Linked DNA regions of Homo sapiens: regions 1, 3, 4, 5, 6 and 7 are each linked to region 2. The links are contacts of gene promoters, found by promoter capture Hi-C in blood cells and fetal thymus (Javierre and others, 2016). All regions are on one chromosome and are shown on one strand. The core of a region is centred on a gene start or on the middle of the fragment in contact, and the rest is flanking DNA. Distances in the headings are between cores, read along the strand shown. Region 1 overlaps LOC105376450 (a long non-coding RNA gene). Region 2 holds the start of MIR1915HG (MIR1915 host gene). Region 3 overlaps SPAG6 (sperm associated antigen 6). Region 4 overlaps SPAG6 (sperm associated antigen 6). Region 5 has its middle 17 kb from the start of LINC03027. Region 6 overlaps COMMD3-BMI1 (COMMD3-BMI1 readthrough). Region 7 overlaps LOC105376449 (a long non-coding RNA gene).

Region 1 (2,906 bases), core at 332-2,831, 980 kb before region 2:
TATTGCAGAAGTATTTATTTGTTAGTGTCTCCCATATATATACACATTGCAGTAAAAATTTTCCCATGACTTTTCAATTCTCAATATTTAACATTTTTCAATTTCAAACGTCGTTAAAGAGCTATTAACATAATGTAGCTTTATGAGTTGTTGATAGTTTACTTTCAACAGCCTTCTTTTGGACACAAGTTAAGCTACTGATTGTTTTTTATTCTAGAACATTTTCCTGTCTGTAGAGAGTACAGTCCAGGCATGCTCCTTAAGAAACCAGACAAACTGGGAGATAAGTTAATCTGGGAAGTTTATTGGAGTGGCTTTGAAATTTTAAAAACAGTTTCTTTGTTTTTTAGTTCTTAATATTAAAGCAATAATTAATGCATTTATTTGTGCACAGCTCTTGGAAGAAATGTTTTTCAGTATCACATTGGTAATTTTGCCATAAATAACTGAGTCTCCTAACTGTAAAAAAGCCTTCCATGTGTCCTTAAATCTTTGAGAATTTGACACATGGTGTAACCCCTAAAGATGTATTTTTAAGTAATGTTTAAAAACTTAGGACTGGTGCTTAACAATGAGGAAAAAGGAAAAAAAAAAGGTCTTAATATTATTGTGAACCAGACTATAACTGAAAGCTTGAGGCAGACACATTTTTTAAACAACTGAGTAAAGCACTAAATTAATAGAATCTAATTTCCTCTTCACTTCTGTGATGTTTTATATGAGTAGGCTCAGTGGATCACATTTTTATGGTTTGGTAATACAAAGTGGTGGACATCAGAGAGAAAAGGTAAAATTTAGGGTTGATGTTTTTCACCAACTATTTTAAAGAAACCCACAAGCCTGCCCAGTGTGGTGGAGACCTTCTGGCCACGTTTAGGTAAAGCTGGTCATCTGAGAACCCATCTGTTGGTAATTCCCAGAGCTGCCTTTTAAAAGTTTTTGGCTAAAATAGTTTTTAGAGTCAGGCCATATTCATGCCAACGTGATTCTGGCCCACGTTATACTTAATCTTTCTCAATCCACAAGTAAAAACCAAGCCAACTAGGGTAAAAACTGTTCCAAAGGTGTGGGTGGCTGTAGGCAGATGGTTTTCATTCTTTTGCCATGACAAGAAAAGATTCAAAAATCTGTATGTTTTAGCACTAAATATATTTTGCATCCATTCTTTAAAAAGCCTTAACTCCTACACAAATCAAGTAATATGAGCAAATATCTTCCAGAATGATAATTTTGAGATGGATGTTGAGGAGTAATGCCTTTGAGTGAAGTCTACCTTCAGTTACAGCTAAGAAAAGACATCATGTTAAACACACCTGAGCATATGTGATTATTTCAATTACTTGCCTGAATTTGAGTAAGCTAACTGTGACTATCAGAAAGGATGTCAGCAACAAAAATCCTGGTTTTTCTCTGCCTGCTACAAATCACATTTCAGCAGCTGTCTCTCACCGGCTGAGAGTTAGCTGAGTAGAGGATGACATAGATTTAGTCACGTGTGCACCGATTTCGGCGTAGTGATTAATGCATGTGGGCTCTGAAATTAGACAACCATGTCCATATCTGGTGCCATTACTGACTTGCGGTTGTTCTTAACCATGTCACTGAAGTCTTCTGGGTCCCAGTGCTCTCAAATGTTAAATAGAGATAATAATAATAATACTAACTTCATAAAACTGTTGTGAGGACTAAAGATATTCACATAATATTCAGAATAGGAAATACATAGCACATGGGAAGCACTCAAATGATAGCTCTTATTGTTTTTATTATTTACTGTTTTTAAATGCCTGCTATAACCAAGTATTATACTATACAATATGCTGAGGTTTTGGTAATATCGAAGAAACAGATGTTTTTCTACATCATAGAGCCTAAAAACTAAATCCTTAGGTTTGAGCCCCATTCAACCTGCCTGTTTTAATTTAAAAAGTGTATTTCTACAGTACTTTTGGAGGCTGAGGCAGGAGGATTGCTTGGGCCTATGAGTTCGAGACCAGACTGGGCAACATGGAGAAACCCCATCTCTACAAAAAAAAATACAAACACTAGCCAGGGGTGGTGGCGCACATCTGTAGTCCCAGCTACTCAGGAGGCTGAGGTGGGAGGATTGCTTCAACCCAGAAGTTCAAGGCTACAGTGAGCCGTGATCACGCCATTCCAGCTTGGGCAACAGAAAGAGACTCTGTTTCAGAAAACAAAACAAAACAAAACAAAACAAAGTTTATTTCTGACCTGTAATATTCATAACATTGTGCTAAATGCCATTGATTTTTCTGTGTTCTCATTCATTTTTGCAAAAGAGATGCAAACAAAAAAACAACTCGGACTTACCCAAAGCCCCAGATAGAGAAGCTGCATATTCACACTCAGATCCCTCAGGACAAGATTCCCCCAGTAACACAAAACACAGCACCAACTGCAAATCATCTTCCATTTACTCAACAGACAATGAGTATCAGCGATGTGTCGGGCATTGTTCAGAGCTGGCCATTCAAGGACAAAACACAGTCTTCAACCTCAAGAAGCTTATGGTGAATTGGAGGAAGAGACAAAATTAAATATGTAATCAGTGTACATGGGATAAGTTGCAGTGCAAAGATATAGGGCATCCTGCCAAGACTGAGGGGTGCAGGTGGACAAGAAAAGCCTCCCACAAAAGAGGCCAAGCATAGATGTTGAGAAAAACCATAGCATTAATCCAGGTGAGAAATAAGGAGAACCTGAGCCGAGAATGGGCTGTGCATGGAGAGAAGATTCCGGGGTAAAGGCAAATCCTGGTCACCATTTGGATGTGGGGAAGAAGGGAGAGGAGAGTGTGAAGGAAGGCCCCAGGTCTCTGTTTGGGGGACCAGAGGGGCATGTACCCAAAGAAGGGGTGGAGCAGACATGCTAATGGCTGTCCATGG
Region 2 (2,700 bases), core at 134-2,633:
CAAAGGTTGTGTTAGCATGTACATTTAACCCAGGAAATTGTGAGAACTCTCTTCAACTCAAGTTGGAAAAAGGGAATGTGTTTGAGCAAAGTCTATTTTTAACAACAGAAAAGTGTGAGTTAAAGTGGACTGTGTGTTAGGTTGGGAATATAATCCATGGCAACTTCACTATACAAGTATTTTTGATTCTTCAGTGGAACTCATCCTCAAATTTTAGTAACTTGAAAAATTGAAGTCTTAAGTATTGTGTATTAAACTGAACCAAGAGATCACAGAAAGACAAAGCTATGGTAAAAGATGTTATAGTTATATTCTCATAGATTTAGTAGGAAAATCACAGCAAAGGAAATGCACCAGGAAGATATGAAATAGAGGAAATATGTTACAAATAATGAAATAGAAGGAGTTGCTGCACAATATAGCTTCACAATCTTATATTTTGAGGGGTAGGTTTTAATGAGAAGCCTCTGCATTGCATGGGAACTGGGAGTCGTAAGAATTATTTATGCAGTAAGAAGGAAAAAAATTAATTATTAGGAGCTCAATAATCACCAAATAAACTCTGAGCTTGGAGGTTAAAAATAGACGGCTATCTTCATGTTCAATTATACAGTATCAATTACTAATACAACTGATGTTTCAGTGTCTCAGCGAGAACAGATACCATCTTCTATGGAGATATCTTGGTATTAATTAATGACTGCTTTATTCTCATTATTCACAAGGAAAAATAGGGGTCGTGTCACATTAAAATTAAGATTATCTTAGTTTATCTGGGCTCTTAAACAAAGATCATTCAAAGTAATTATACTTTGAATTAATCGAGGTAGGCAATTTATCTCGTTATTTTTTTTTGTTCAAAGACAGGAAAATAAAGATCAGAAATAAGCAAAGTTTCATTTTGAAGATAGAAAGAACCAAACAAACATGTCTTGACTTTTGCAGTATTTCCCTTGCTAAAGGGGGAATGAGGGAACTGTAAAAGACGTGACTTTGCAAAGTCAAGTCCTTTTTAAAAGACTCGGATCGAAATTCTTGCTATGCAACAAGGATTCAAGTTTGATTAATTTTCTGCAAGCGACGTGACAGCGGTGTTTTAAAAGATTAATTAAAATTGAAGTGATACGGAGCAGGAATTCAACCTGCAGAGGCGTCCCTGGCGCCTTGGGGGGCTTTGTAAGCGAGTCCCAAGCCCGAACTGCGGGCTTTCCCGAGCCTGGGACGCAACTCCCCGTCTCCTGGAGAGGAACGCGGAATTTGGCAGGGCGCCCGCCTGGCCGCCTGGCATCCTGAGCTGGCCGCCAGCTCTCGGGGGGTGGGGACTGGGTGTGTCCTGGGGAACCCGCTGCCGAGAGAGCAGCTAGCGCAGCTCGCGACGAGCCATTGAGGACCAGGGTCGCGCCGAGAGGCCGGAGGGGGCTCCAGGCAGCCTGGAGCTGACGGCGCCGGGCTGCGTCCTCTTCACCTGGGGGTGGGGGGTGGGGGCACGTACTTTGTGACCAGGATGGTGCCGAGCCCCCTCTACGGCGGGAGCTTGCAGGGGTGCGGGGGTGTGACTGGCGCTCCGCGGACTCGTGTCCACAGTACAGAGGACATGTAGGGTTCGGCCGGGGCGCGGCTGCACCGGGGCCTGCCTCGCGGACCTGGACTCGGGACTCCGGGCGGCCCTGCCTGGTGCCATTGCCTCAGCCAAGTCTCCCACCTCTCTGCTCGGTTTCCCGCCCCACCTTTCCCCTACTACCGCATCCCTGTCCCCTCGCTTCCCTCCGCGATGTCTCCATCCGAGTAAGAAACGAAGCTGAACGCATTGGTAACTGTGCTCAAGAAGATGCAATCGCGGGAGCCCTCAGGGTGGCGCACGGCGGAGAGGCGACGCGGGTGGCGCTGCAGAGGGTACGGTGGGGGGCGGGGAAGAGGGGGGCGTTCGTGTGCAATTAGCCTCCCCAGGGCGCGGACCACGGTGTCCCCTTCTCTCCAGCTGGGGGTCTCGGGTCCTGGCGCTGAGAGGCCGCACCTTGCCTTGCTGCCCGGGCCGTGCACCCGTGGGCCCCAGGGCGACGCGGCGGGGGCGGCCCTAGCGACCTGCGGCGGCGCCGGGAAAGCCCTGCCTCTGCAGCGGGTCCCAGGGGTCGGGGCCTGGAAGGGTCCCTGGGAATGCTCCGCGCCGAGAAGGCTCTGTGGTTTCTCCTCCCCCACACGTCTCCCTCTCCTCCCCTCTTCCCGGGGACCTCAGAGGTGGCGGGGAAGTGGGAAGGGAGGCGGGCTTGCAGACCGTGCAGGCTGGGGAGCCGGAGCTCGGGAGTTGGGGGAGTCCGAGTGAGAACGGAAGCGCGTGGACGCGATGGAAGGGGCCGGGGGAAAGGGGGACGGCACTGGGGAGGGCTGGGGTGCGGGGCAGGCGACAGTCCCTTCCCCTCCGAGCGGCGCGGGGGACCTCTTCCCCGGGGAACCCCCACCCAGCCGTTCCCAACCTCGAGAACAAAGGGTCTGGGAAGCACGGTCGGGGTCGGGGAGCGGAGGTGGAGGGAGGCAGGAAGGCAGGCGGTGGGGGCAGGGGAGGGCGCCTCCCCACGTTTCCTCTCGCGGCCGAATGATGGAAAGCTCCCTCCAGCAAACGCCTCACTGAGGCCGCTTCTGAATCCGGGAGGGTTCGGGTTCGTTACCTAACGGCTGCACTTCGCTCCCTTCCTCCCCCAGCGT
Region 3 (2,700 bases), core at 150-2,649, 850 kb before region 2:
AACTAAAAGTGGCCTGGTGTTCCAGTAAGCCACAAAACATGTTTCTTATATTTTATAACTAACAAAACACCTCCAATTGCTGAAATTTTACAATTGGTAGAAGTAACAATGTATTATCTCTACTATTACAGTCATGTGTTACTAATTATTCAGACGGGAAGTATCAAAATTTGTTTTTAAATAGCTGCAAGAGGTAATGGTTCAAACATATAGAATTTGAGAGTACATAAAGAAATTTTATAACAGACATTAAACTTTTTAATTGTTCATATGAGTTCTTTTAATTTAGAGGAATAAAACCTCAGTGAGGAAAAAAAAAAACACCTCAAGGTTATAGATGCTTTGTACACCGTTCTTTCTAGTAATAATTTTGTTTAGAAATCAAACTTACTACCCAGGCGTGGCGGCTCAGGCCTTTAATCCCAGCACTTTGGGAGGCTGAGGCGGGTGGATCCTTTGAGGTCAGGAGTTCGAGACCAGCCTGGCTAAACATGGTGAAAACCCTTCTCTATTAAAAAAACAAAACAAAACAAAACAAAAATTAGCCAGGTGTGGTGGTACGCACCTATAATCCCAGCTACTCAGGAGGCTGAGGCAGGAGAATCACTTGAGCCTGGGAGGCAGAGGTTGCATTGAGCTGAGATAGCACCACTGCACTCCAGTCTGGGCGACAGAGTGAAACCCTGTCTCGAAAACAAAAAAGAAGGAAATCAAACTTAATCTTTTCCAAATAACTCTGAAGAAAAGATCTTGCAACATACTTTGTCTGCTTTGGCAATTACTTTGGACATATTTAATAAAGCAAATTCTCTTATTAGTGTATAAAAAACACAATAAAAAAGATTGGAGACTTAAAATGAAATAAAAACTCCATTGACAATTTTCACCTTTAATATTCCTTTCACATAGAATAAATTCAAAAATTCTTAACAAGGGAATTACTGGTTTGATCATGATACCCATATGGAAAATATTTTTTACATTATCTTGGATCCATGATATATATTTACTTAGCATATTGGAGGGAAAAATGAGAAAACAAACAAAATCTTCCAGGTATGTAGACAGTATGTCAAAGTCAGGAGTAATATGCATTGGTATCTGAAGCTACCAAATGAAGGCATTTGACTGAAAAAAAGTTTGACCATAATGTATAATTGATTTACACATACTGAGGCTCATTCTAAAGCCCTTTTTTAAAATTGTAATTTTTTAAAAGAACAAATCATTTGAATGGTTAAGTAAACTGACTATTAAGAAAGAAAACTGGCCGGGCGCAATCCCAGTGCTTTGGGAGGCCAAGGCGGGTGGATCACAAGGTCAAGTGATCGAGACCATCCTGGCCAACATGCTGGAACCCCGTCTCTACTAAAAGTACAAAAATTAGCTGGGCATGGTGGCGCACACCTGTAGTCTCAGCTACTCAGGAGGCTGAGGCAGGAGAATCGCTTGAACCTGGGAGGCGGAGGTTGTAGTGAGCCGAGATCATGCCACTGCACTCTAGCCTGGCAACAGAGCAAGACTCTGTCTCAAAGAAAGAAAGAAAAGTTTTCATAACAAAGTTTACAGGTTCTTTTTTAATCAAAAGAATAAATACATTGAATATTCATTATGTCTGTATTTAAAATTGCTAAAGGAATGCTTGAATTGAATCTCGATAACATGAAATTTGTTAAAAATAAGTCCCTCAGGAAAAGAAACATTTTAGCATGCTACCCAGATATTAGTCAAGTGCAGAGAATTTCAAAACATAAAGTTATATTCCTTTCGTATTCATCTTTCCTAAGCCAGACCATAAGTGTAGAATCTTATATCTAAGCCACTTATACAGTCAATTTGGATTAAGTTCCATTGTGAAGTCTACATTGCACTCTTATGGGAGGAGCTAACCTGCCACTACTCACTAAAACATGATACTCCGTATCTTAAAAGTTATGTATACTTTAACATCTCAGTATTAAAATTTGAAAATAATATCAATTATTTTCCCATTTTAAAAGTTTTAGTTTGGCTATATTCATATTGTCCAGAAACTAAATCTTTGTTAAGTAGTAAATGTCCATTCACAAAGGTCATTGAGAGGGACTGAGAGAAAAAACTTTAAAAGTTTACACTTTAAAATTACTTTTAAATACACTTCTAAAATGTAACATGTTCTAATACCTTAGTCTGTGTTAGTCTGTGTATATGAAATACTGTGTGCCCAGTATTGTTCTGGGTACTTGGAGGAGTACGGGTGCATACACACACACAGAATACAGAAAATCAACCCATATAAAACAACTATAGAACAAAGGATTATCAATTCTGAAATGACAAAATTTTAGAAATGGAGAAGAGATTAGTGGTTGTCCAGGGTTAGGGATAGCAGGAGGTGTGTGTGGCTATAAAAGGGCAAGAGAGAGGATCCTTGTGACAATGAAAGTGTTCTGTATCTTGACTGTGCTGGTGGTGGATACGCACGGAATAAAATTCTATAGGACAAAACACACACACACACGAACAATTAAAAGGAGGAAACCTATATAAGATCAACGAATTTTTATCAATGTCAATGTCCTCCTTGTGATATTGCACTACAGTTTTGAAAAATGTTACCATTGGGGAAACTGAGAAAAGGGTACACGGGATCTCTCTGTATTATCCCTTACAGTTGTGAATCTACAATTATTTCAAACTAAAATGCGTTTAGAAGATTAT
Region 4 (2,700 bases), core at 96-2,595, 900 kb before region 2:
GGCACAAGAATCACTTGAACCTGGGAGGTGGAGGTTGCAGTAAGCTGAGATTGCACCACTGCAATCCAGCCTGGGCAGCAGCCCAGCCTGGGCAACAGAGTGAGACCCTGTCTCAAAAAAGAAAATACAAATGATTTCTGTATATTGATCTTGTATCCCATGACTTTGTTGAACTCTTATTAGTTCTATGATTTGTGTGTGTGCGTGTGTGTGTGTGTCTGTGTGTGTGAATTCCTTAGGATTTTTTTACATACAAGATCATGTCACACGTTGGTTTTAAGATTCATTACCTTCTAGAAGATATGCATTATGATTGGTTGTTTATGGCTGTGAGCAAAATAAAATAGCCCTTACAACTCCATACCATGAATTGTACAGAAATTTTATGGGGTCAAAAAAACTCTCCTATTTACCTAGTTCAGTAAATCAAGTAATATCTTACCTTGAGCTAATGAATAACAGATTATAAATTTTCCTAATTGTCATTGCATTTAGTAGTTAATGTTTATCCTTAGATACAATATATGACGATGTCAGAGAAGGAATCCTGGGCTATCTATTGAGGGCATTCTGAGGGTTTGGGCCTGGTTTACCTATTAACTAGCATAGCATCTACAGTTCTAACTTCATTCATTTTTCCGTCATTTCTAAAAACTGACTGTATCCTCCCTGATTAGGGCTATTGGAAAAACCACAGTAAGTAACAACACTATTTTTTTTACCTCTTAACACTACACATAAAAATAGCAATTAACAAAATAAAATTGACAATACTATGGGAAACCAATACAATTTCAATTGTTTTTCACTAAAAATTGGAAGAATACCAAAAATTACTAATTGTTGCTTTCCTTAGTGGATTATTGATATGGCTTGCTCTCAGTGTTGGAGAGTAAACATAGTAGAGTTTGTATTGGTCTGTTTTCATGCAGCTGATAAAGACATACCCGACATGGGGAAGAAAAAGAGGTTTAATTGGAGTTACAGTTCCACATGGCTGGGGAGGCCTCAGAATCACAGCAGGAGGCAAAAGGCACTCTTACATGGCAGCAGCAAGAGAAAATGAGAAAGATGCAAAAGTGGAAACCCCTGATAAAACCATCCACTATCATGAGACTTAATCCCTACCACAAGAACAGTATGGGGGAAACCACACCCATGATTCAAATTATCTCCCACCAGGTCCCTCCCACAACACGTGGGAATTATGGGAGTACAATTCAAGATGAGATTTGGCTGGGGACACAGAGCCAAACTATATCAGAGTTCTCATGAGATCTGCTTGTTTCAAAGCATGTAGCACCTCCCCCTTCGCTCCCTCTCTCCTGCTCTGCCATGTGAAGACATTCTTATTGCCCCTTTGCCTTCTGCCATGATTGTAAGTTTCATGAGGCTTCCCAGCCATGCTTCCTGTACAGCATGCAGAACTGTGAGTCAATTAAACTTCTTCATCAATTACCCAGTCTCAGGTAGTTATTTACAGCAGTGTGAGAACAAACAAATACAATTATCTTGAATGAAAACTGCTGAAAAATTTTTAAAAATTCTTTTCAGAAAGTTATTTTTGTTCTGAAAGCATTGTGGTCCAAAGAGTAATAGCTATTAAAATGAAGAGGAACATAGGAGTAAATCTTTATGACCTTTGGTTAGACAAAGCCTTCTTAGATACAACACAAAAAGCATATGCAATTGAATTTCATTAAAATTTAAAACTTTTGTGCTGCAGACAATATCATCAAGAAAATAAGATAACCCACAGAATGTGAGAAAATACTTGTAAATCATACATCTGATAAGATCTTGCATCCAGAATATACAAAGAACTCTTACAACTCAATAATAAAAAGATAAATAACCCAGTTTAAAATGAGCAAAGGGTCTGAATAGACATCTCTCTAAAGAAGACGTATGAACAGCCAATAAACATATGAAAAGATTTTCAACATCATTAGCCATTTGACAAATGCAAACCAAAACCACAATGAGATACCAATTCAAACCCACTAGGATGACTACAATCAAAAATAAAGATAATAACAAGAGTTGACAAAGATGTGGAAAAAGTGGAACCATCATACCTTGCTGGTAGTACAATGGAAAACAGTTGGGCAGTTTCTCGAGATGTTAAACAGAGTTATCTATTGACCCAGCAGTTTCATCCCTGGGTAAATACCCAAGAGAAATGAAAACATACATCCACACGAAAACTTGTTACAATAATGTTTATAACAGCATTATTCATAATAGTCAAGAGTAGAAATAATCCAACGTCCATCAGCTGGTAAATGGATAAACAAAATGTGACATATTAATACAATAGAATATTATTTGGCAATAGAAAGGAACAAAATACTGATATATGCCACAACATGGACGAACTGTGAAACTTCAAGTAAGTAGTAAAGAAGGCAGGCACATGGCTAGGTGTGGTGGCTCACACCTCTTATCCCAGTGCTTTGGGAGGTCAAGGTGGGGGACTGCTTGAGGCCAGGAGTTCAAGACCAGCCTGGGCAACACAGTGAGACCCTGTCTCTCCAAAAAAAGAAAAAATTAATTAGCCAGATGTGGCAGTACACACTTGTAGTCTTAGCTACTTGGGAGGCTAAGGCAGGAGGATCACTTGGGCCCAGGAGTTCAAGGCTTCAATGAGTTGATTATGCCACTGCACTCCAGTCTGCAACAGAAAGAAACCCTATCTCT
Region 5 (2,700 bases), core at 60-2,559, 920 kb before region 2:
ACATTATTAATATAATATTTTTTATTCAATTTTTAAAGTCAAGATGAAAAGGCCATATGGGTTATTCCAAAATGTGCTTTGGTTTTGCATACATACAATGTGGCCCCAAATTTGGTCTCACATACAGTGTTTATAAATGCAAGAATAATGGCTTAATTAGCATCTCTGCTAACTTAGATTGCAGGTTTTATTGCAGAGCACACTTTTCTGTGGGGGAAGGGGGAAGTGAGGGAAGTAGTGGGCAAAAATGTTTCCAGGTGTTGCAACAAAATGCTGATTCTTTTTATTGATATTAACTTTGACTCTGATTTTTTAAAATAAATTTCTTCATCCAGTATCATTGTTTATCTGAAACTCTTTTGGAAATCCATTACAAAAGTGAAAAGAAGAGTAGCAAATATGATTTATCAAGCACTTATGTGCATGGTCACACAGGTTGTGTACTTCACAAGGGCACCAGCACTTCTCAGGGGGCACAGTTCACATATTAGACATCACAGATTTCCATATTTATAAAGATAATTTTCCAGCAGATGGCAGTAAAGTGTGTTGCTCTAACAAAATAAGACTATTACAATAATTTCTGCCAGATGGAAATAAACTATCTTGAGGACTGGGCACCTTTTATATTATACAAAGATATATAGAGTAACGGTGGCACCATTTACTACATGCCACACCTTCTGCTGGCTCATCCTCATTTAATCCTCAGAATCTGATGTAGTGGGTGCTATTAGCAACTTGCCAAGGCCACTGACTGGGGTGGTAGTTTTGACATTCTTATACGGGTCTACTAAGGCCTAGAGACTTGAGGAGACTTGCTGTGGTCAGAGCTAGCGTGACCTAAGGTCAACCAGAAGCCTAGAGGCTCTTACTCTCAGTCCAACCTGCTGCTGGTTCTCCTGTGTGCTCATCACAGTGCTGGGTGACACTGGGGACTGAGAACAGGACACATTTCACTCATCTAAGTAAAAGGTCATCTTCAGTTAGTGAAGAAAAATATGGGAAAATGTTGACATTCCCTTTGGCACTTTACTCGCTTGTATTGTTTGTATGACTTAAACTATACATGCAGACAGAAATAAAAAAACAGAACACTCAATATAGGTTACAATAGTTTTCATAGAGTTGGACTTCTTTATATCCAAAAATACTTTGAGTAAATCATTTACTATCAGTAATGCATAAATTTTAGCAAGAGTGGGCCAGGCGCGGTGGCTCACGCCTGTAATCCCAGCACTTTGGGAGGCCGACGCGGGTGGATCACGAGGTCAGGAGATCCAGACCATCCTGGCTAACACGGTGAAACCCCATCTCTACTAAAAATACAAAAAAATTAGCCGGGCGTGATGGCATGCGCCTGTAGTCCCTGCTACTAGGGAGGCTGAGGCAGGAGAATGGCGTGAACCCAGGAGGCGGAGCTTGCAGTGAGCCGAGATCATACCACTACACTCCAGCCTGGGTGACAGAGCGAGACTCCATCTCAAAAAAAAACAAAAAAATTAGCGAGAGTGTATTACCACAAATTCTATATACGTGAGGAAATTTAGAGGCTTTATTTAATGTATAAATATCCATACCAAATCACTTTGCAATAATGATATATATTGATATAATATTCTTTATCCAGCATTCAGTTTAAATCTACTTCAGAAAATGTATCAATCATGAATAACAGAAGCCCATTTATAAATATTTTGTATTGACCTCTAACTTAATCCCCAAGGAAATATTTTTCCCTAAACCCACTAAAATTAAAAACAAAGTGAAAACTCTATCTTCCACGAAACAAGCAAACTGCAGTAACTTTTGTTTTTAATTTTAAAATAACATGTGTAGCATGAATACATTTTTCCGGAATTTTTCTAGCCGTACAAAGGTTTGGAGAGCTATTTGGAACTATCTCAGCTTGTTAATGACAATTCTGTTTTGGGTTGTGAGATCTGGAGTCATATTTTTGCTTCTTTCTTTATCCATTCATATACTGCCTAATTTTTTTTTAAAAATTAACTTATTGATACCTAAAAAACAATAAAACCCACCATTCTCTAAAGTAATATCACTGAATATGCATCTAATTTTATGGCCTACCAAGGCCTTGTAAAAACAAAACAATGTAAGTATTTATGTTACTAGAAAAATAAGTGCATGAACAAATTTAATTTTAAAAGTCAAAAGTCTCTTAAACAACTGGTAAATGTAATAATTATAGGACAGCCACTTGATCCTTTTAATCACCTGAAAGAAGCAGAAGAGCTACAAATCAACATTTTCTAAACAGTGAATTCTGTGGCAGAATAAGCCACAGTGTACATAAACCTCAACATTTGGTAGCACCTATCTTAATCAAAGAATTGGCTATTTGAAAACACAACAGAAAAATTCTTCATTCTTTCAAGGTTGGTTTCTAAACTTGACATCTGGGATGGGAGATGGGCCTCACCCAGGAATTTAAGGTCAGGGTTTATGTTAAGCAGGACCTCAAATCAAGTTTAGAAACAAGCAAACCTTTCATCCTTTCTTTAAGGAAAAGGGTTTTCTTTGAGAGGAAGGGGTTAGAAAAACAGGTCAATATCCTGTAAATATGGGGTTGTCATTTGTTTTTCCATACTACATTAAATATGCCTGCTTTGTGTTTAGTGTCTTGTGCGTATTCCACTGCCTCTGTCTCGGCAAATGTGTTTATATTAGAAAACTCCA
Region 6 (2,700 bases), core at 147-2,646, 830 kb before region 2:
AATCCTCTATAGGTTTTCCATAACTTCTGCACATTGTGCTTTTCATATCAAATTTTTATTAAAGATCTTAGCTATTTTCTAAATGAATATCCTTTTTATTGGATTTTTTCCAATTACAAATGAAATTTCATTTTACATCTATAATTAGAAACAACACTTACAATGGGACTGTACAAATTTAGGTCAAAATAAAAATATATGTATCTTGTGACTTCATAAAACATCCTTTACTATATTTTTAAAGAAAGCAGAAGTAACAGCAATATATGTAAAAGTAATGATTTAATGACTATAAGCAAGACAAAGCAATAGAATTGTGCTTCTTTTGCAGACTGGGGACAATGAAATGTTTAGCTACAATTTTCCCATACAAACATGAAACAATATTCATATAGAATAAACACCCTCACAAATAACTGATGGGTGATGAACACACACCAAGTTCGACCAAAGCAAAAAATAAACTGAAAATTGTTGGGTGGGGTTATTCATATTTTAAATTCAACATGCTTGCTCTATTTAAAAATACCTGTAGAAGCTCATAATAAATAGCTTCTATTTTCAGACATAGCAGAGAAGGCATATTCCATTGTTAACTGTAAAAGCAACTCTTAAATTTAAAATTACTGCTATACCACCTATTAAAATAACTTTAGATAAAATGCCTTCTTTTAGCAACCTGCTGGTTTATTTAAAAAATTGTTTTAGAATTATAGTGATCAATATGCATTTTTAAAATACAATATTAATTCCATCATAGCCAATGGAAAATTAAGACGGTTTCCATATTTCTCAGTTAAAGGTTTTTCTTCACTGCAACAATCTTTAAAGTAAACATGTATTACTGGAGAAAAGTATATAAAGTATAGAAAGATGTGCCAATTGCTTCTAATGGAACAGACTTTAGAATTAGATATCCACATTAAAAATATTCTTTGCTGGTAAGCAAGGCTCAACATAGGTTATGGGTATCTGCAAAGGTCGAACCAGTTGGGAGAATTTTAACAATCATTTCTGAATGCATGAAACACAATATTTCTTTATAGCATTTATAAATATATCATACAATACTGTTTCCTGTTATGTCATATACCAATATGGCATTGTACAACAAGCATAATGCCATCTGATTCTTACAAAAGCGAATCATTTAAACAAGTCAGTAAAATAAACGGTAGTACCCGCTTTTAGGCATACAGATTGTAAAACTGAAGTTCACTTTTCTTTGATCGGTTTTGCGTAGCAACAGAGAAGTATAAATCAAACAGGAATCAAAATGGCTAAATATGCAAGAAATCGTTATTCACAGTGACATGGCTACATAGAATGCATTATTCTATGCATATTCTTTCCGTTGGTTGAATTTCAAGATAAAAAGCACTTGTTTTCTACAGGTTCACAAAACAGCGTAATAACAAGAACGATCAAGGAGAATGTAATGTAGGCGTTAGTTGAGATTAACAAACTATGGCCCAATGCTTATGTCCACTGCAGAGTACTTCCAAATCCAAACAATGGTTACAGAAACCATTTCCCATCTTTCCTAACACAGAGAAAAAGTCTTGCCTGCTTTCCAAGAAACCAATTCTTTATAACAACAATCTTTCTTTTCAATTAACGTCCATAGGAGTATCACATGTAGTCCATCTTTTATAGCCAAATTTAATGTCACTACAAAAGAAAGCAAATTGGACGATAGTCACATGTATTAGCATCTAGAAAGCTGTAATGGCATGAAGATATCTATATAAATCAGGGGTTTAAAATTTTTTTCCTTAACAGTCTCAGGTATCAACCAGAAGAAGTTGCTGATGACCCATTTACTGATGATTTTCGAGGTCTATTGGCAAAAGAAGATTGGTGGTTACCGCTGGGGCTGTTGCTGGTTCCATTCATAGTACTGGAAATGTGAGGAAACTGTGGATGAGGAGACTGCACTGGAGTACTGGGGCTAGGCAAACAAGAAGAGGTGGAGGGAATACCTCCTGCTGGGCTGTTGGCCTTGTCACTCCCAGAGTCACTTTCCAGTTCTCCAGCATTTGTCAGTCCATCTCTCTGGTGACTGATCTTCATTCTTTTACAAGTAGGTCGAACTCTGTATTTCAATGGAAGTGGACCATTCTACAAAGTTAAAAGGAAAAAAATTACTCTTAATTCTTTAAATATAGTTTACCATCATAATCTAACAACAGATATGCTACTTACCCTTCTCCAGGTATAAATGTAGGCAATATCCATTAGTGTATAATAATCCTTTAAAGGTTCCTCCTCATACATGACATCAATCTAGTGAAAAATATTTTTATTAAGTAATAAAAGAACAAAGGTAAATGTACATTTTTTGTCATTTAAATATAATCCAAAAGTGCTTTAAGAAACATATTCTCCAAACATTTTAACAAAGAAAGACTCCTGAAACTTCAAATGAGAAAAAATTATTTCTAGAGAGTGTTAAGGGATTTGTTTTCATAGCATAAAAGAGAATGTATACCAAATGTTTTAAGATAAATTTCAACTTTAGCACTAACTTCACATTTTTTTTCTATTGCTTTTTTGGGTTCAAAATCCAAAGTGAAAAATGTAATTAAAATTGTAAAATCTATGTAAAATGCAAGAAGAATATAAAAGTAGATACCTGGAAAGTATTAGGTATGTCCATTTTACTTCTGAGAAACTTTCTTAAGTGCATCACAGTCATTG
Region 7 (2,750 bases), core at 247-2,746, 950 kb before region 2:
GAGATGATGCTCCCATTTCTCTCCTTCTCCAGTTGGCAAACTACAACTCATCCTTCAAGGCCAGCTCAGGGGCCACTGTCCACTATCCCTGTGACTTTTCACCTTGCTGGATAAACGCTCCCATCACCGTGCTCTCACAGCACATGTGCAAATCTCTCAGTTCCCACATGCATCACTCTGTATTATAATCATCTACTTGTGTCCTCCCATCTCCTCCATGTGACTCCTTCCAAATAAGATTGTGGTCCACTCCTCTCTAAGTCCCTGTGCCTACTCTAGTGATGGCATATAAAGATATTCTGTATACATTTGCTTTTTGACAAATTGAAAGTATTTACTAGAAGCATTTGGCCTGCATCCTTTGCCACACTCCACCTCTTTTTTTCCCTCCCAGTTATAAGAGGGCATAGTAGATGGTAGTCAAGAAATAATGTCCTAACTTTGCTATTGTGGTGTCAGGCCTAAAAGTAAGGAGCAGTATTACTTGTCATCTGGGGAAAATCAAGAGGGCCTGCCTCAAATGAAAGCCTTCTTCCCTCTCCGTTCCAGCAGATAAGGTCCCCTAGCCAAGCTACCCTCCTCATCAAGTGGACCAGGTGGTGTTCCCGCTTATCCCTGAGTATTGGGTTTCAGTTCCCTGCCAGCCCATGGAATTGAAACAAGCCAATCACATCATCCTATAGGAAGCAGGGGGCACCCCACCCTCTTGTTACCACAAAGCCTGCCTCCCAAGCCCCTGCTTATTCATTCAGTTCCTGAGGACAATCTTCATTCACTCTTGTGTGCCGTATCCTTCTCCCCCTGGCTATGAGTACATGTGACTAATAAGCTGCTGTCAATCTCAAGTGTCCAGTGTCAGGTGCTGTGTGTCTGGCCAATGGCATAACCTTAGGGTGAGAATCCCTTCCTCACCAATGTGGTAAATAGGAGGTGACTAAAACCGTTAGTCCCACAGGAATAGCAGTGATGGTGGGGAAGTGGCAGCCAGCCAGGCAGGGATGTAGGAGACCTAGAAATTTTGGTTCATCTCTGTCATGAGTCTCATTTCATGCTGGGCTCCTGAGTTCCTAAGGTAGTACTGGTCACCTGTACATGATTGCCAATGTTGACTGAAAAACAAAAACTGGCAAAATGTGCATTTACCCAGGTAAAAAGTCTGCATGGGTAATGAATAATACCACATGTTGCGTAGTCCAGATATTTCAAAAAATGGCAGCCCCGAGAGTGGAAATATCGCTTTTTTAAAGGTCTTTAACTGAAATATTTGGGCCCAGACTAAGCTAAATTTTATAGGATTGCTGAGGTTAAACTCTAAGGGAGCCCTAAGCTGACTTCTTTACATTCCAGGTTGTTTTTCCCTTTTTAACCCAACTTAAAGCAAGGGGAATCCATTCGGTACCAAAGCACTAACCAGCTGGGGTTATCCAAACAAGAGTAGATATTTTCGGCCTGAATTATTTCCATAATTTCACCACTTTCCACTTGGCAGTAGAGTTATTATTCTGCAACTGTATTTCATGTTTGTGAAGGAGCAGACTCCTCCCAGCCTGCAACTATGAGACAAAAGCCACAACTCTTAGATGCAAATCAGCGTCCCAGCCCTCATTTAATAAAATGCTTATTATATAATCGTTTTAAGATACAGGTATTAGAAAAATGAGGAAGTAACAACAACCAAAACCAAAATGAAGAAAAACCCAATCTTCAGAAATGCATCAATGTTCTCTTGAAAAAAACTTTCCCTGCTGAATCATTCACTTTTCAAATATGACTTTGTGTTAGAAAAAAGTTCAGATTCCATCCAAAGTTCAAGTCCATTGTTCCCTACCTAGGTAATTGCCACAGATCAGCAGGGTATTACTCTCTGATGTCCCAGCAGCGAATCATTCAGCTGACAGCATTTTAACATCTGTTGTAGACATTTTTTAAAAAGCATCTTCGGCATCCAGAGGAATTAAATACATCTGATAAATGTCTGAGACTTTGGACAAGGCTCAAAGTCATTTTTTCTGAGTGAAGAAAGTACACTAAAAAGAGAGTAAACTGTATTCACTTTTTCAAATTCCCTAAATACTAACATTTGCATTTTACTATGGGTTGCTATACTATTTATTATTTCAACTCCATCTTACTCTATAGAGCACATTACAAAAGCTAGCAATAATTCTCACCTTACATGCCTGAAAGGTGGGTTTATTAATTTAGTAAAACCTAAGTAAATAATAACATTTCAATCATTCCATAACCCTCCTTGTCTTTTCCCATCAACACACTCCTAGGACACCGAAGATGGCACTGCCAGCCAAGATGTGTGGCATAGGTGCTCTTGTTTTCCCATGGTTTTCTATTTCTAAACATTGTTCCATTCACCTTTATTATAGACACTGACTCATGGAATAGTTACAGGAACGTGTCCATAGTCTCTCAGAACTAGGAACAGAGCACAGAAATCTCTGTTCTTGACTGTTTGTACTGACCCCTGGAAATTCTATGTGTTTCAGTGGGACACAGACCAGGGCATCCTTTTCCCTGATCCTGTTGAGGATGTGGAAGGAGTGACAGGAAGACTGTGGTCAGGAGTCTGGATTCCAGTCCTGCTTTTATCACCAACTAGTATCCTTTGGCAAGGTCTGCTTTCTGATCCTCACTTTCCTTATCTATATAATGAAGACATTGGATCACAGGATCATTTAAGGTCCCTTCAGATCTAACTTTTTATATGTGATAGATCATTTCTGATGGTGGTCATG

Evidence for each region. Contacts are between HindIII fragments. The CHiCAGO score rates a contact against its expected background, and 5 or more counts as called.
Region 1: a contact is called between a fragment that was not itself captured here and the fragment with the promoter of MIR1915HG in region 2, in 1 of 17 cell types (naive B cells). The highest score is 5.2, in naive B cells.
Region 3: a contact is called between a fragment that was not itself captured here and the fragment with the promoter of MIR1915HG in region 2, in 2 of 17 cell types (total B cells and naive B cells). The highest score is 12.1, in total B cells.
Region 4: a fragment that was not itself captured here is called in contact with the fragment with the promoter of MIR1915HG in region 2 in 1 of 17 cell types (total B cells); the score reaches 7.1 in total B cells.
Region 5: a fragment that was not itself captured here is called in contact with the fragment with the promoter of MIR1915HG in region 2 in 1 of 17 cell types (total CD4 T cells); the score reaches 6.3 in total CD4 T cells.
Region 6: a fragment that was not itself captured here is called in contact with the fragment with the promoter of MIR1915HG in region 2 in 2 of 17 cell types (fetal thymus and total B cells); the score reaches 7.5 in fetal thymus.
Region 7: a contact is called between a fragment that was not itself captured here and the fragment with the promoter of MIR1915HG in region 2, in 1 of 17 cell types (total B cells). The highest score is 5.0, in total B cells.

What each region holds. Positions count from the first base shown.
Region 1 is chr10:22,471,814-22,474,719 of GRCh38, reverse strand. LOC105376450 (a long non-coding RNA gene) reads right to left here. Exons shown (of 3, transcript XR_930748.1): 2 at 2,332-2,525; 3 at 2,143-2,182. Among named protein-coding and RNA genes, the nearest start is that of LINC03027, 35 kb to the right of the region's middle. The HindIII fragment of the contact is 1,893 bases long and covers 635-2,527 here.
Region 2 is chr10:21,495,943-21,498,642 of GRCh38, reverse strand. MIR1915HG (MIR1915 host gene) reads left to right here and starts at 1,383. Exons shown (of 2, transcript NR_160800.1): 1 at 1,383-1,893; 2 at 2,698-2,700. It overlaps MIR1915 (microRNA 1915), which reads left to right and starts at 2,002; the gene lies at 2,002-2,081. RefSeq lists silencers at 1,903-2,152, 2,363-2,412, 2,463-2,700. The HindIII fragment of the contact is 8,649 bases long and covers 1-2,700 here.
Region 3 is chr10:22,346,841-22,349,540 of GRCh38, reverse strand. All of the region lies in intron 2 of SPAG6 (sperm associated antigen 6), which reads right to left. Among named protein-coding and RNA genes, the nearest start is that of SPAG6, 2.7 kb to the right of the region's middle. The HindIII fragment of the contact is 4,311 bases long and covers 1-2,700 here.
Region 4 is chr10:22,394,728-22,397,427 of GRCh38, reverse strand. The region is part of intron 8 of SPAG6 (sperm associated antigen 6); the gene reads right to left. Among named protein-coding and RNA genes, the nearest start is that of LINC03027, 42 kb to the left of the region's middle. The HindIII fragment of the contact is 3,647 bases long and covers 1-2,700 here.
Region 5 is chr10:22,419,135-22,421,834 of GRCh38, reverse strand. No RefSeq gene overlaps it. Among named protein-coding and RNA genes, the nearest start is that of LINC03027, 17 kb to the left of the region's middle. The HindIII fragment of the contact is 3,225 bases long and covers 1-2,700 here.
Region 6 is chr10:22,328,634-22,331,333 of GRCh38, reverse strand. It overlaps COMMD3-BMI1 (COMMD3-BMI1 readthrough), which reads right to left. Exons shown (of 14, transcript NM_001204062.2): 12 at 2,636-2,700; 13 at 2,206-2,286; 14 at 1-2,121. The coding sequence ends at 1,792. BMI1 (BMI1 proto-oncogene, polycomb ring finger) reads right to left here. Exons shown (of 10, transcript NM_005180.9): 8 at 2,636-2,700; 9 at 2,206-2,286; 10 at 1-2,121. The coding sequence ends at 1,792. Among named protein-coding and RNA genes, the nearest start is that of BMI1, 8.9 kb to the right of the region's middle. The HindIII fragment of the contact is 3,822 bases long and covers 1-2,700 here.
Region 7 is chr10:22,442,505-22,445,254 of GRCh38, reverse strand. All of the region lies in intron 1 of LOC105376449 (a long non-coding RNA gene), which reads right to left. Among named protein-coding and RNA genes, the nearest start is that of LINC03027, 6.0 kb to the right of the region's middle. The HindIII fragment of the contact is 4,760 bases long and covers 1-2,750 here.